Regions from separate parts of the Homo sapiens genome. Here region 2 is linked to region 1. The links are contacts of gene promoters, found by promoter capture Hi-C in human tissues and cell types (Jung and others, 2019). All regions are on one chromosome and are shown on one strand. The core of a region is centred on a gene start or on the middle of the fragment in contact, and the rest is flanking DNA. Distances in the headings are between cores, read along the strand shown. Region 1 holds the start of MMP25 (matrix metallopeptidase 25). Region 2 overlaps CLUAP1 (clusterin associated protein 1).

Region 1 (7,247 bases), core at 856-3,355:
AGACTTTAAAATTTTGCCAATCTGATGACAAACATGGGATCTGTTATGGAGTAAATTGTGCCCTGTCAATATTCTTATGTTGACCATTACAGGAATGGTGGCTCACGCCTGTAATCCTAGCACTTTGGGAGCCTGAGGCAGGAGAAATGGTTGAGCCTAGGAGTTCAAGAAAGCCCTGAGCAACACAGGGAGGCCCCGTCTCTACCAAAAGAAAAGAAAAAGAAAAAAAAAAAAGAAAGAAAGAAAAAACATGGGCATGGTGGCTTGGGCCAGTTGTCCCAGCTACTTGACAGGCTGAGACAGGAGGATTGCTTGAGCCTAGGAGTTCCAGGCTGCGGTGAGCTATGATCATGCTACTGCTGCACTCCAGCCTGGGAGACAGAGCGAGACCCTGGCTCAAAACAAACAAACAAACAAAAAAACCAAAACCAACCAAACAAACAAAAAAAACAAACCAGAGAGAGAAGAAGAATTTGTATGTTAAAGCCCTAACCCCCAGTACCTCAGAATGTGATTATAGTTAGAGATAGAGCTGATAAAAAAGTGACTAACTTAAAATGAGGCTTTTAGGGTGGCCCCGATGATTGACTTCTTACAAGAGGTCAATGACCAGGCGCGGTGGCTCACGCCTGTAATCCCAGAACTTTGGGAGGCCGAGGCCGGCAGATCACGAGGTCAGGAGATGGAGACCATCCTGGCTAACACGGTGAAACCCCGTCTCTACTAAAATACAAAAAAATTAGCCGGGCGTGGTGGCGGGCGCCTGTAGTCCCAGCTACTCGGGAGGCTGAGGCAGGAGAATGGCGTGAACCAGGGAGGCGGAGTTTGCAGTGAGCCGAGATCGCGCCACTGCACTCCAGCCTGGGCGACAGAGCGAGACTCCGTCTCAAAAAAAGCAAAACAAAACAAAACAAAACAAAACAAAAGAGGACGATACTTCTGGGGTGTGCAAGCGCAGGGGGACGGCCGTGTGGGGAAACAGCAAGAGGACGCCCATCTGCCTGCCCAGGAGGAGGCATCCGGAGAAACTAGCCCCTCAGGCACCTTGATCTTGGCCTTCCAGTTTCCAGAACTGTGAGAACGTAAACTTCTGGTTGAGCCTCCCAGTCCTTGGTGTTTTGTTCTGGCGGCCCCAGCGAGCGGGCGCGGGATCGCAGTGTTTGCCTTTGCATCTCCAGCTCCGCATCCTGCTCGCTGTTTATTTTGTGAGCAGCTCCGGCGGCTGCCCCTGAACTGCTCCGAGACTGAGCAGTTTAACTCACACTCGCCCACCCGCCCTCCCCAGGAAGCCTCCCGCCCGCTTCCTCCAGTTCCTTCCCCACCTGTCCGGCCTCCTAGCCCGGTGCTCTCGGCGCGGGAGGAGGCGGCTCGCAGACCCCCAGGTCTCGGCTTCCCGGATCTCCCCCGCCTACTCACTCCCCGGTCCCCGGCTCCCGGCACTGGCAGGCGCTGTGGCTTCCGCGCAGTGGCTGCAGCATTTAAATGTCCGGCACTTAGGGAGAGGGGTGCAGTCGCGGAGCAGCCGCTGCTCCCGGCATCTAGAGGGGCCCAAACCCCCGCGTGCCCAGGCCGAGCCCCGCGCGCAGCCCACGTGGGCTGAGGGACTGAGTATTGGCCCTCGGGCAGCTGCAACCGCGCACAGCTGGAGCTGGCGGGGCGGAGGGCGGGCCGGGACCCCGCGGGGAAGGAGGCTTCCTTCCCAGCCTCCTGCTGCCCGGAAATCCCCCCGGCTCTCAGACAACCTGCCCCACGGGGTCCTGGGGGGAAGGAGAGGGGCGGGATACAGGGATGGGGAGGGCTGGCTGAGCCGAAGGCCCGGGCCGCCCTCCCCCAGGCCGCGCGGCTTCGAGAAAGCAGAAGCGAGCCCTGCCCCGGGGAGTCCCACAGGAGCGGGGATCTGGGAAGAGAAACTTGCGGACGAGGGAGTTAGAGCCGTGGACCCCCGGCCCCCGCCCGGGCGTCCTGCGTCGGAGGAGGGTCTCTGGGTCGGGCAGGGGCCACCTCTTGGCCCGCCCCTTGTCGCTGGACGTCCGAAGATTGGGCCATTTCCCTTGCCGCGCCCTTACCGCATATCGGGGTGCGCCCGGCCCGGCCCGGCCCGCCCCACCCAGCCCTCCGCTCGCGCCCGGAGAGGAGGGGCCGCTGGCGCAGCGCCCCGGGACCCCGAGAGGCCGCCGCGGCACATCCAGACCTCCGCCGCTCCCGCGCCCTCTCAACCATCCTGGGATTCCCGGGCCCACCCGACCCAGCGGCGCGACCCTGGCCCTCCGGGACCCTCCGCTGACTCCACCGCGCACTTCCCGGGACCCCCACACACATCCCAGCCCTCCGGCCGATCCCTCCCTACTCGGTGCCGGGTGCCCCCCGCCCTCTCCAGGCCCGGATCTCCTCCCCCAGGTCCCCGGGGCGGCCCCAGCCAGGCCCCCTTCGAACCCCGCCGGCGGCCCGGGCTGGGGCGCACCATGCGGCTGCGGCTCCGGCTTCTGGCGCTGCTGCTTCTGCTGCTGGCACCGCCCGCGCGCGCCCCGAAGCCCTCGGCGCAGGACGTGAGCCTGGGCGTGGTGAGCGCGGGGTCCGCAGGCTCCTGGGGTCTGCAGAGAGATTGGGAGAGGGAAGCCGGGCCCGGACTCCTGGGTCCGGAGGAGGCAGGGGCCAGATTCCAATATCCAAAGAGTGACTGAGGATGGGGTCTGTGCTCCCGGCTTCTTGGGTCTGTCGGGAAGTTTGGGGCTGGGATTTGGAGCTCTGGAAAGGAGCTGAGGTGCGGAGCTGAAGTCCAGACAAGACTGGCAAACCCGGGACTGAAGCGGGGACCTATGGAGGGGAGCAGGCAGGCATCCGGGGCTGGGGCCCTGGGCTCTGGGTGCCTGGGAGGGGCAGGGCTGCCAGGATGGTGGTGGGCAGAGAGAGCCCATACTTTTCACCCAGCCCGCTTCACCTGCCCCCTCCGATGCCCTAGGACTGGCTGACTCGCTATGGTTACCTGCCGCCACCCCACCCTGCCCAGGCCCAGCTGCAGAGCCCTGAGAAGTTGCGCGATGCCATCAAAGTCATGCAGAGGTTCGCGGGGCTGCCGGAGACCGGCCGCATGGGTAGGTGGCCCCCACCCCTCCCCAGCCCTGCCTCTGCACCCAGCCTGTCCACCGCCCAACAGCCTTTAGACCTCAGTGTGCTCCTGGAACACGGAGCTGTGAAGATGCTGATCTCAGGCCCCAAACCCAGAGGGCCTCAGGCGTTCATCTTTCCATAAGCATTTATCAAGAACCTGGTGGCTCATGCCGGTAATCCCAGGGTTTTGGGAGGCGGAGACTCAAGGATTGCTTCAGGCCAGGAGTTTGAGACCAGCTTGGCCAACAAAGTGAGACCCCCCCACTCTCCAAGGATTTTTTTTTTTTTTTTTTGAGACGGAGTATCCCTCTTTTTGCCCAGGCTGGAGTGCAATGGTACCATCTCGGCTCACCGCAACCTCTGCCTCCCAGGTTCAAGTGATTCTCCTGCCTCAGCCTCCTGAGTAGCTGGGATTACAGGCACGCACCATCACACCAGGCTAATTTTGTATTTTTAGTAGAGACGGGGTTTCTCCATGCTGATCAGGCTGGTTTCGAACTCCTGGCCTCAGGTAACCCGCCGGCCTTGGCCTCCCAAAGTCCTGGGATTACAGGTGTGAGCCACCGTGCCCAGTCCTCTAAGGATTTTTTTAAATTTAGCTGAGTGTAGTGGCATAGGCCTGTGGTCCCAGCTACTCAGAACGCTGAGATGGGAAAATTGCTTAAGCCCAGAAGTTCAAGGCTGCAGTGAGCTATGATTGCACCGTTGCACTCCAACCTGGGCAACAGATGGAGACCCAGTCTCTAACCAAATATACTTTGAGCATCTCTTAGATGCCACGCCCTTTCAGCTCCAATGGTATAGTGATAAATAAAGTAGGTAAGGTTCCTGCTCTCATGGAGCTAACTTTCTCGAGGGAGAGAGAGAGAGACAGATCAAGAACATAAATATGAAAGATAATTTCAGATGGCGGTGAGTGTTTAGAAAAAAATAAAATGCTATTGGCATTGAGGGGCTGGTCTGGTTAGGGCAGGTCCCTCTGAAAAGTGTCATATGAGCTGAGACCACAAAGAGGAGGAACCAGCCATGGGAAGATGTGGAAGAAGAGTGTCCCGGGCAAGTGCAAAGACCCCACGGCACGCAGAAGCTTGTGTGCCTGGAGCAAAAGGAGCATTGAAGAGCTCTGGCGAGAGGCCTCAGCCAAGGGCCCTGAAAGGTGATTAGGGTTGATTCCAAGGGTGATTAGCAACCACCTAAGTGTTCTCAGAAGGGAAGCAATTCAGAACTTGGTATGACTTGCAATTTTTTTTTTTTTTTTTTTAGACAGAGTCTCACTCTGTGGCCCAGGCTGCAGTACAGTGGCGCAATCTCGGCTCATTGCAATCTCTGCCTCCCGGGTTCAAGTGATTCTCCTGCCTCAGCCTCCTGAGTAGCTGGGACTACAGGCATCCGCCACCATGCCCAGCTAATTTTTTTGTATGTTTAGTAGAGACAGGGTTTTGCCATGTTGGCCAAGCAGGTCTCGAACTCTTAGCCTCAAGCGATCAGCCCACCTTGGCCTCCCACAGTGCTGGGATTACAGGCATGAGCCACCGTGCCCGGCTTTGACTTGCAGTTTTAAGCTTCCTCTGGGTCCTGATGGAGAATGGAAGGCAGGAGCCCTGAGACCAGGCAGAAGACGGCTGCGGAGTCCACACGAGGGATGGTGGCAGAAGGATGGGTGGCATATGTGGCCAGAAGTAGTTGGATTCGGGGTGTATATTTTGGAGGCAGGGCCGAGGAACTCTTCTGTGGGGTTAAGTGGGCAGGAAGAGGGAATTTGAAGGATCTGGCTCACTACAAGGAAAGGTAGGCCCTGTGTCTGTCCTGGTGACTCACAAACAGCCTAGAACAGTGTCTGGCATCTATATGTCCTTCATCACTATTTGCCGCCTCAATAAATGAGGCGCAGTTTGACCTTAATTTGGAGATGAGGCTACTGGGGATGGAGCCCAGCTGGGAAAGGGGACCCCAGAGAGACCTAACCCAGGAGGGGGTGGCTTGCCACAGGAGGCCAGAGACCCAGCCGGCCTGGGCACTTTGGACCTAATCTGGGTTTGAGGAGAACTTGGCAGTGATGGTGTGAGGCCTGCACAGCTCCCAGGGGGTTCCAGCCTCAAAGGGTCCTCACTGCATACCCAGGGCTCCTTTCTCCAGAGTCCGCCCACCAGGGCCCAGGGAAGCTGGATGCAAAATCCTGGCCTGAGCCTCTGAGCATCACCTGCATGCAGCCAGTTTGTCCCAGGCCAGGTGACGCCACTCCAAAGGGCAGTAGGAATGGCTTGGTAGGAGCTGGCTTCCAGAGACAGACTGCCTGGGTTCAAACCTGGGCTGTGGGGCCTTCGAGGGCACATTTCTTGAGCCCTCTGAGCCTCAGTTTTCCCATGTAGAAAGTTGACTGGTGCTATGATTAAGGCAGGCTCTCCTATTGTGGACACACCCCCCACCGCCAAATGTCTCCCGCAGACCCAGGGACAGTGGCCACCATGCGTAAGCCCCGCTGCTCCCTGCCTGACGTGCTGGGGGTGGCGGGGCTGGTCAGGCGGCGTCGCCGGTACGCTCTGAGCGGCAGCGTGTGGAAGAAGCGAACCCTGACATGGAGGTAGGTCCTGGGGCCCACCCGCACCCTGGCCCTGCCTGCTGGGCTCCGGCTTTGAATGGCTGCCTGCTCCCTCCACGGCCACCCTTACACCTCACTCCCCTCTCCCCAGGGTACGTTCCTTCCCCCAGAGCTCCCAGCTGAGCCAGGAGACCGTGCGGGTCCTCATGAGCTATGCCCTGATGGCCTGGGGCATGGAGTCAGGCCTCACATTTCATGAGGTGGATTCCCCCCAGGGCCAGGAGCCCGACATCCTCATCGACTTTGCCCGCGCCTTCCACCAGGACAGCTACCCCTTCGACGGGTTGGGGGGCACCCTAGCCCATGCCTTCTTCCCTGGGGAGCACCCCATCTCCGGGGACACTCACTTTGACGATGAGGAGACCTGGACTTTTGGGTCAAAAGGTAAAATCTCCTCTCTTATGAGAGATCCTCTTGCCAGGTCTGGTCTTAAGAATAAGTTTTCTGTTGTGTGTTTTGTTTTGTTTAAGAAACAAGGTCTTGCTCTGTTGCTCAGGCTAGAGTGCAGTGGTGCAATCATAGCTAACTGCAACCACGAACTTCTGGCTCAAGCAATCCTCCCACCTCAGACTCCAGAGTAGCTGGGATCACTGGTGCACACCACCATACCTGGCTATTTTTTTTGTTTGTTTTTTTTACTTTTTGTAGAAACAGGGTCTCATTATCTTGCTCAGGCTGGAGTGCAGTTGCACGATCACGGCTCACTGCAGCCTTCACCTCCTGGGCTCAAGTGATCCTCCCTCCTCAGCCACCACGTAGCCAGGACCACAGATGTGCACCACCACACCTGGCTAGTTTTAAAACTTTTTGTAGAGATGGGGCTTCACTATGTCACCAGGGCTGGTCTTGAACTCCTGGGCTCAAGTGATCCTCCCATCTTGGTCTCTCAAAGCATTGGGATTATAAGCATGAGCCACCACTCCTGGCCAATAATTAGGTTTAAATTATATTTACTGATGGAGGCTTTATCAGCTGGGAGGTCTCCAGAGAAACAAAACCAACAGGATGTGTGTGTGTGTGCACGTGTGTGTGGGATGTGTGTGTGTGTGTATGTGTGTGGGGGGGGTGTGTGTGTGCGTGTGTGTAAAGAGATTTATTTTAAGGAATTGGCTCACGGGATTGTAGGGGATAGCAAGTCCAAAATTTGTACGGCAGGCTGGCAACTCAGGATTTCAGTGACAGTCTGGAGGCAGAATTCCTTCCTCTCCAGGAAACCTTAGCTTTAGCTCTCAAGGCCTTGAACTGATTGGCTCTGCCCCCACCCCACCCCCAGCCACACTATGGAGCATGATCTACTTGACTTAAGGTCAACTGATTGTAGATGTTAATTGCATCTACAAAGACCTTCACCATGGCATCTAGACTGGTGTTTCACCAACCAGCTGGGCACGACAGCCGGGCCAAACTGACACACACAATGAACCATCACAGAGGCCTAGCAGGTGCCTAGCTCCAAGCCAGAGCTGGGGGCTTGCGGAGACGAAAACAAATCTTTACCTGGCAGCTGAGTCAGAAGAGTGACTGGCAATGACAACACCCA
Region 2 (7,247 bases), core at 2,191-4,690, 460 kb after region 1:
ATAATTTATGTAATTTATATAGGTAGGCTTTTAGGTTGTCTGAAGCTTTGCTCTTTGGAACAGTGCTGTAACAAATAACCTGTACATCTCATTTTGTTTGTGTTTGAGTGTGTCCCTAGAATAAGTTCTTAGATTTGGGATTGCTGGGTCAAAAGATATGTGCATTTGTAATTTTGATGTCTTTTACCAAATTGCTCTCCATCAAGATTGTCCCAGTTTATACAACCACTCACAATGTTTGAGTCACTTGAATGCTTTGCTTTTATTAGGTTATATCCCAGTTGTCAGCAGAGGCATTTTCAACTCACCTACATGGGATTTAGTTTAGACATTACATGGAAAGGGCCTTCAACTTTTTTTTTTTTTGGTCTAAAAATAGGCCACCAAGGCACATATAAAACTCAACACTAAGAAGCTTTATCAAGCAGATGGGTATGCGGTAAAAGAGCTGCTGAAGATCACATCTGTCCTTTATAATGCTATGAAGACCAAGGGGATGGAGGGCTCTGAAATAGTAGAGGAAGATGTCAACAAGTTCAAGTTTGATCTTGGCTCAAAGGTAAGGACAACAAAAGCCTTGTAGTGGGCGATGGAGCGTTGATTTCTTGAGCTCTGAAGTGGAAGGAGTCTGCTACAGCTCCGCTGCTTTTCTTCCTCCTCAGCTGAGGGCAGTTTGTCAGTTTTGTGCTCATCAGCATTTGGATAAAGTCAAAGTCACAATCCACTAATTCAACTATTTATTAAAAGCTTAGTATTTGTCAGGTAGCATTCAAGCGCTGAGGATACAGTTGTGAACAAAAAGGACAAAAATCGTGTGTTTATTCTCTTCAGTTAGGGGAGTCAGACTGTGAACAATAAGAGGTGTGGAAGGCCAGATGCAGTGCAGGCTGTGGAGAATAATAAGCTGGGATGGGGATGGATGCTGCCCAGAGTGATCTTAAATCGGGTGATCAGGAAGGCCTCATGGATTGGATGGTGTTTCCAGCAGAGATCCAAGGGAGGGAAAGAGTGAGTTGTGCGGGTGGCGGGTGGCGTCAGGGTGTCTCAGGATGATAATTTGTTTTGGGCTGGGTGCAGTGACTCACTCCTGTAAGCCAAACACTTTGGGAGGCCGAGGTGGGAGGATCCTTTGATGCCAAGAGTTCCAGACCAACCTGGGCAACATAGTGAGACGCCATTTTTACCAAAAAAAAGAAAAAAATTAGCTAGGCGTGGTGGTACACACCTGTGGTCCCAGCTGCCCAGGAGGCTGAGGTGGGAAGATCTCTTGAGCCCAGGCAGTCAAGCCATGTTCATGGCACTGCGCTCCCGCCTAGGCAACAGAACGAGACCTTGTCTGGGGGGAAGAAAAAAAATGTGTTTTGTGTGTTTGAGGAAAAGCAAGGAGGCCGTGTGATGAGGGTTGGGATTGACAGACCCTCTGGCGCCTGGGAAGCCCCTGGAAAGCCTTTGTCTTTGCCTCTAAGGTGGGAATCGTTGGGATCCAAGCGGAACCTTCTGTGCTTATTTCCCGTCCAAAGGGTTGCTCTGGCTGCTGAGCCGCCATCAGACCGAAGCAGGCGGCAGGGCTGGAAGCAGCGAGCCTGTTTGGAGAGTGAGGGGTGACCGTGGCTTTGAGCAGAGTGCTGGTGGGACAGGTGCCGTCAGGTGTCAGGGAGCGACCACAGCAGCAAGCCAGAAATAAAGGTTAAGCCGTTACTCTGAGGCCCAAGGCCTCAGAGCAGGAGACCTAGGAATGAAGGCCCCGGGGCTGGGAGTGCACCTAAGAGTGTGGCCACGCAGGGTACGTGAAACCACAGTGCACTGGCTGAGCTCCAAGTCTGCTGCAGGGAAGAAAGCTTCCCCTGTGAGGCCTGCTAGGTGAGGCCTTGTCATGGTCTATAGTTGGGCTTGAAAAGCCACACACAGCTTTTTTGTTTTGTTTTTGTTTTGTTTTGAGACGGAGTTTCAGTCTGTGGCCCAGGCTGGAGTGCAATGGCACGATCTTGGCTCGCTGCGCCTCTGCCTCCCAGGTTCAAGAGATTCTTCTGCCTCAGCCTCCTAAGTAGCTGGGATTACAGGTACACACCACCATGCCCAGCTAATTTTTTTTTTTTTTTTTTGAGATGGAGTTTCACTCTTGTTGCCCAGGCTGGAGTGCAATGGCACAATCTCAGCTCACTGCAACCTCTGCCTCCCAGGTTCAAGTGATTCTTCTGCCTCAGCCTCCTGAGTAGCTGAGATTACAGGCATGCGCCACCACACCCAGCTAATTTTTTACTTGTAGTAGAGTCAGGGTTTCTCCATGTTGGTCAGGCTAGTCTCGAACTCCTGACCTCAGGTGATCTGCCCGCCTCAGCCTCCCAAAGTGCTAGGATTACAGGCGTGAGCCACCGCACCCGGCTTTGTATTTTTTTTTTTTTTTTTAGCAGAGATGGGGTTTCACCATGTTGGCCAGCTAGTCTCAAACTCCTGACCTCAGGTGATCTGCCTGCCTCGGCCTCCCGTAGTGCTGGGATTATAGGCGTGAGCCACCGCGCCTGTCCTCACATGTGGGTTTTTAACCAGGAGCGACACTCGTCAGCAAGAGAAGTGTCTAGAGATTGGGGCATATTTTGATGGTAGATCTCACGGGATGAGGCATGGGTTGAGAGTAAGTCAGGTGCTACAGGCCGGGTCTTGGGGCAGCCGTGCGGCAGAGCTTGCAGAGCTCATGGGTGTGTTCCGCCTCTGTGCTGTACTCTACGGGAACCACTGGCCACATGTGGCAAGCACAACTGAGGAACTGAGTTGAGTTCTGCATTTTCTTTAATTCTTAAGTAATTTAAGTGAAAATGGCCACATGTGGCTATTGGTTACTATATTAGACATCACTGCTCTGAAGTTTTTTGTGTGAGCCCCTGGAAGGATGAAGTTGCCATGTACTGAAGCAGAGAAGGTTCTGCACATGCTCCATTTGCCACGCCGATTGGCTGTCCAGGTGGAGATGGTGCACAGGTAGCTGGTATGTGAAACTAGAGCCCAGGGAAAGCCCAGGCTGGAGCTGGGAGCTGGGGAGCAATCAGCACACAGATGGTATTAAAGCCTTGAGGGTAGGAGCAGAGCCAGCAGAAAAGACGGGGGGTCCAGGAATGAAACTCTGACTCGCTCCACTTTTGAGAAGCAGAGAAGGTGACAGACTCCTGCAAAGAAGTTTGGGGATGTGCTGCTCGGAAGGGAAGAAAAGCAGCTAGAGCCAGAGCAGGCTGGATCCTGGAGGACTAAGGAAGAGGGAAGCAAGCTATCAAAGCCATCAGCTGCAAATGAAGAGGGAGAGTTGTTGCTAGTGGGTTGAAAATGAGAGCCAGAAGGTGAGGATTGGTTGTCCAGGAGAGAGGGAGAGTGAGCAGAGCAGGGAGACGTTTATGTTTGGGCTCCTTAGAAGAGTTAGCATATTCTAGGAAGAAGGGGTGACACACACATCCTAAGAAAGAAGCCTGTGCACAGGGCTCAGTGCTAAATCCTCATTGTGGTTGTCATCACCTTCCTGGCAACAGCTGCCCATCTGTGGAGCCCAGAACCATTGTAAGTCCTTAGTGGGTGCCACCCGATTTGCGCCTCTCCAAGCCTGTGGAGGAAAGTCTGAGGCAGAGAAGGAGGGCAGGGGAGGACGAAACACAGGACGTCAGGCTGCTGCAAGAGGATGTGTGTCCCTCAGGCTGTCCCTTTGTGTGGCCGCTCTGCTGCCGTCAGGCACCCTACTGTGACAAAGTCCAAGTAGGAAGCACGTCAGCTTTCTCCCAGCTATGCCCTCCTGGTTGTGGCTTCAGTTTGAGGTGACATTAGGTTTTTTGGAGAGACCCAGGCGTCCTGGAATTGGTCTCTTTAGTACTTAGATGATCATTTCCTGAGCGTGTGTCCCGCAGCCTGTGAGCATGTAACTGGGGAAGCACATGTTTGTGGTCACGTGTCCCAACCAAAGGTAGGAGCTGACATGAACAGGCTAGTGGTTGAATGCATGTTAAAAATCTGTGGCTGGCCGGGCACGGTGGCTCACGCCTGTGATCCCAGCACTTTGGGAGGCCGAGGTGGGTGGATCACCTGAGGTCAGGAATTCAAGAGCAGCCTGACCAACATGTAGAAATCCTGTCTCTACTAAAAATACAAAATTAGCCGGGCGTGGTGGCACATGCCTGTAATCCCAGCCACTTGGGAGGCTGAGGCAGGAAAATTACTTGAACCTGGGAGGTGGAGATTGCGGTGAGCCGAGATCGCGCTATCACACTCCAGCCTAGGCAACAAGAACGAAACTCCGTCTCAAAAAAAAAAAAAAAAAAATCTGTGGCTGGCTGAACATGGTGGTTCTGCCTATAATCCCAACACTTTGGGAGGCTGAGGTCGGAGGGTCACTTGAGGCCAGGAGTTAGAGAGCAGCCTGGGTAACATAGCCAAGACCCTGTCTCTATTAAAAAACATCTGTTGCTGAGGTTTCTGTTTTTGTTATTTTCCTTCCAGATTGCAGATTTGAAGGCAGCCAGGCAGCTTGCGTCTGAAATCACCTCCAAAGGAGCATCTCTGTATGACTTGCTCGGCATGGAAGTAGAGTTGAGGGTAAGCATTCCAGTACTTCCTTAACCATGCAGATTTTCTCTTCAAGGTTTTCTTTTTCAATTCTGTTTCTCCCTTTTCAGTTCTGATTTAATGAAATACACCTGGTTGAATGAGCTAATGTGTGGAAAGGTGATAGAGGATATTAGCTGTCCTTCCTGCTTCTGGTGGGCACTGGTCTAGCTTTATTTATTTATTTATTTATTTTTATTTATTTATTTTTGAGACGGAGTCTCGCTGTGTTGCCCAGGCTGGAGTGCAGTGGCGCAATCTCGTCTCACTGCAAGCTCCGCCTCCCAGGTTCACGCCATTCTCCTGCCTCAGCCTCCCAAGTAGCTGGGACTACAGGTGCCTGCCACCACACCCGGCTAATTTTTTGTATTTTTAGTAGAGACAGGGTTTCACCGTGTTAGCCAGGATGGTCTCAATCTCCTGACCTCGTGATCTGCCTGCCTTGGCCTCCCAAAGTGCTGGGATTACCGGTGTGAGCCACCGCGCCCGGCACTGGTCTACCTTTAACTTCTTGTTTAGGAGTGGCAGCTCCATGGCATGTGACTGAGCTGTCCTTGTTGTGCCCACTGGCAGACTTTATTGATCATGATGTTTTTTTCTGGTGTACTCTGCTTCAGCATTTTCTCAAAAATGATCTTCTGAGCTTGCAGTTCCCCGACCTTGCTGCCCAGTGCAAACACCTGGGGACCTCTAAAGACTTCTGAAGCCTGGCTTTCACTCTGGGGTCCTTGTTATGGAATGTGACCTGGGCATTGGGAGTTTTCAGATTCTCCCGGGTGATTCTAACAGCAGTTTGGGACCAGCAATCTTGGCATCACTTCCAGTCAGCTGAAGTTGATGTTGCAGTGGAGACTGATTTGATTTGCAATCCTTATTCCAGCCAATGCCAGCCAAGAAGTATGTGCCATCACCTACATTTAAGTAGCTGTTTAAGACTGGAGTGGTGTTTATTTTTTATTTTTTTAATTTTGTTATTTTTTTTGAGACAGTCTCACTCTGTTGCCCAGGCTGGAGTGCGGTGGCTCAATCTCGGCTCACTAAAACCTCCGCCTCCCAGGTTCAGGTGATTCTCCTTCCTCAGCCTCCTGAGTAGCTGCAATTACAGATATGTGTCACCACACCCGGCTAATTTTTGTATTTTTAGTAGAGATGGGGTTTCATCATGTTGGCCAGGTTGGTCTCAAACTCCTGATCTCAAGTGATTCGCCTTCCTCGGCCTCCCAAAGTGCTGGGATTACAGGCATGAGCCACTGCGTCTGGCCTAGAGTGGAGTAGTGTTTAATCCTTACCTGTAAAGATTTATGGCATTTGAAGCATATGTGCTCAATCTAATGCTTTAAAACTAAATGAATTTCTTTCATTCACTTCCTAGCAAGAGTGCCAGCCATGGCTTCTCTCTCTCACTGCCTTGCCTGTGTTCTGGCATACCCTGGGAGCAAACTGGAAGTGGAAGTCTGGGGAAGAGGGACTTAGGTGCTAGATTGCTATGTCTGCTCATCATATATTGACCCGGCAGTTGCCACCTGATGAAGTGTGGTTGGCAGAATGAAACTGCCACTGACATCTGCTAGCTAATTCAGATGATGAGTAAGGTACCTCCAGGCTTTCCCCTGTTCTGTTTGTAGTGCAGTGGTGTACATATGTCTGTACATGTCCCTAAGAGACTCAGAGACAGGAGCTGGCCACTTGCTGATTGCCACTAGAGCTGTGGCATCATTGTGAGACTTCATTTCCATCCCACGGGGTCTCTTTCAACACCATCCTGTAAAGAATGATGAAGTAACCAGTGGCTGAAACTGTTCCCAAGGAAACCATGAGACCCTGAATGTAGTACTTGTCAAATTCTGTGTGTAGTCATGATCCGAGGAAGAGCGCCTATCCAGTGTTTGTTTTTCTTTCATTCAGTAAACATTTACTGAGGTGCAGCCTCAGCCACAGGCAAGGCACTGAGCTCTGCCTCCTTGACTAAGTCCTCACCCTGCCCTCAGCCATTCCCACCAGGTGCACCGTGGATGAAAGGAAGCACAAGACGAGTTTTGACACAGTGCTTCAGGAACCTTGTCTTACTTTGTTCAGGCTGCCGTCCCAAAACACAATAAGCTGAGTGACTTATAAATAACAGATTTGTTTCTCACAGTTCTGGAGATTGGGAAGTTCTAGATGAAAGCACTAGCAGCTTCAGTGTCTGGCGAGGGCTTGTTCCCCACAGATGGTGCCTTGTTGCTGAGTCCTCACATGGCAGCAGGGGTGAGGGATCTCCCCAGGGTTTCTCTTAGGAGCTAATCACCTCCTAACATCATCACATTGTGGTTTCGAGTTTCAACATAGGAATTTTGGGGTCACACAAACATTGTCTATAGTAAACCTCATAACTATATCCACATTACAATCCCATGTCTCAGAAGTTTTCAGCACTGATATGATAGTCACAGATGTCTCCCTTGATAGGTTAATGGTTCATGCTAGGGGCAGGGCCATGGTCACTGTTCTTATCGGTTGCGTTTGTTAGTGATAGGCAACTGAGAGGGACTTCATGCTAAGAAAGATGCTTAGTTTGGGAGTCACCTGGACAGAATGCAGGTAAAGAAGCAAATTGGGGCTGGGCATAGTGACTCATGCCTGTGATCCTAGCACTGTGGGAGACCAAGGAACGTGGATCACTTGAGCCT

The links. Contacts are between HindIII fragments. The study calls those that stand out against the background at their distance.
Region 2: a fragment that was not itself captured here is called in contact with the fragment with the promoter of MMP25 in region 1 in 1 of the 25 tissues and cell types used here (lymphoblastoid cells).

What each region holds. Positions count from the first base shown.
Region 1 is chr16:3,044,456-3,051,702 of GRCh38, forward strand. MMP25 (matrix metallopeptidase 25) reads left to right here and starts at 2,106. Exons shown (of 10, transcript NM_022468.5): 1 at 2,106-2,561; 2 at 2,960-3,092; 3 at 5,554-5,689; 4 at 5,799-6,091. The coding sequence starts at 2,463. RefSeq lists enhancers at 1,059-1,138, 2,987-3,566, 5,058-5,650 and silencers at 1,579-1,778, 1,819-2,108. The HindIII fragment of the contact is 14,233 bases long and covers 1-4,432 here.
Region 2 is chr16:3,507,910-3,515,156 of GRCh38, forward strand. It overlaps CLUAP1 (clusterin associated protein 1), which reads left to right. Exons shown (of 12, transcript NM_015041.3): 4 at 380-559; 5 at 4,474-4,569. Among named protein-coding and RNA genes, the nearest start is that of CLUAP1, 11 kb to the left of the region's middle. RefSeq lists an enhancer at 2,006-2,065. The HindIII fragment of the contact is 6,420 bases long and covers 231-6,650 here.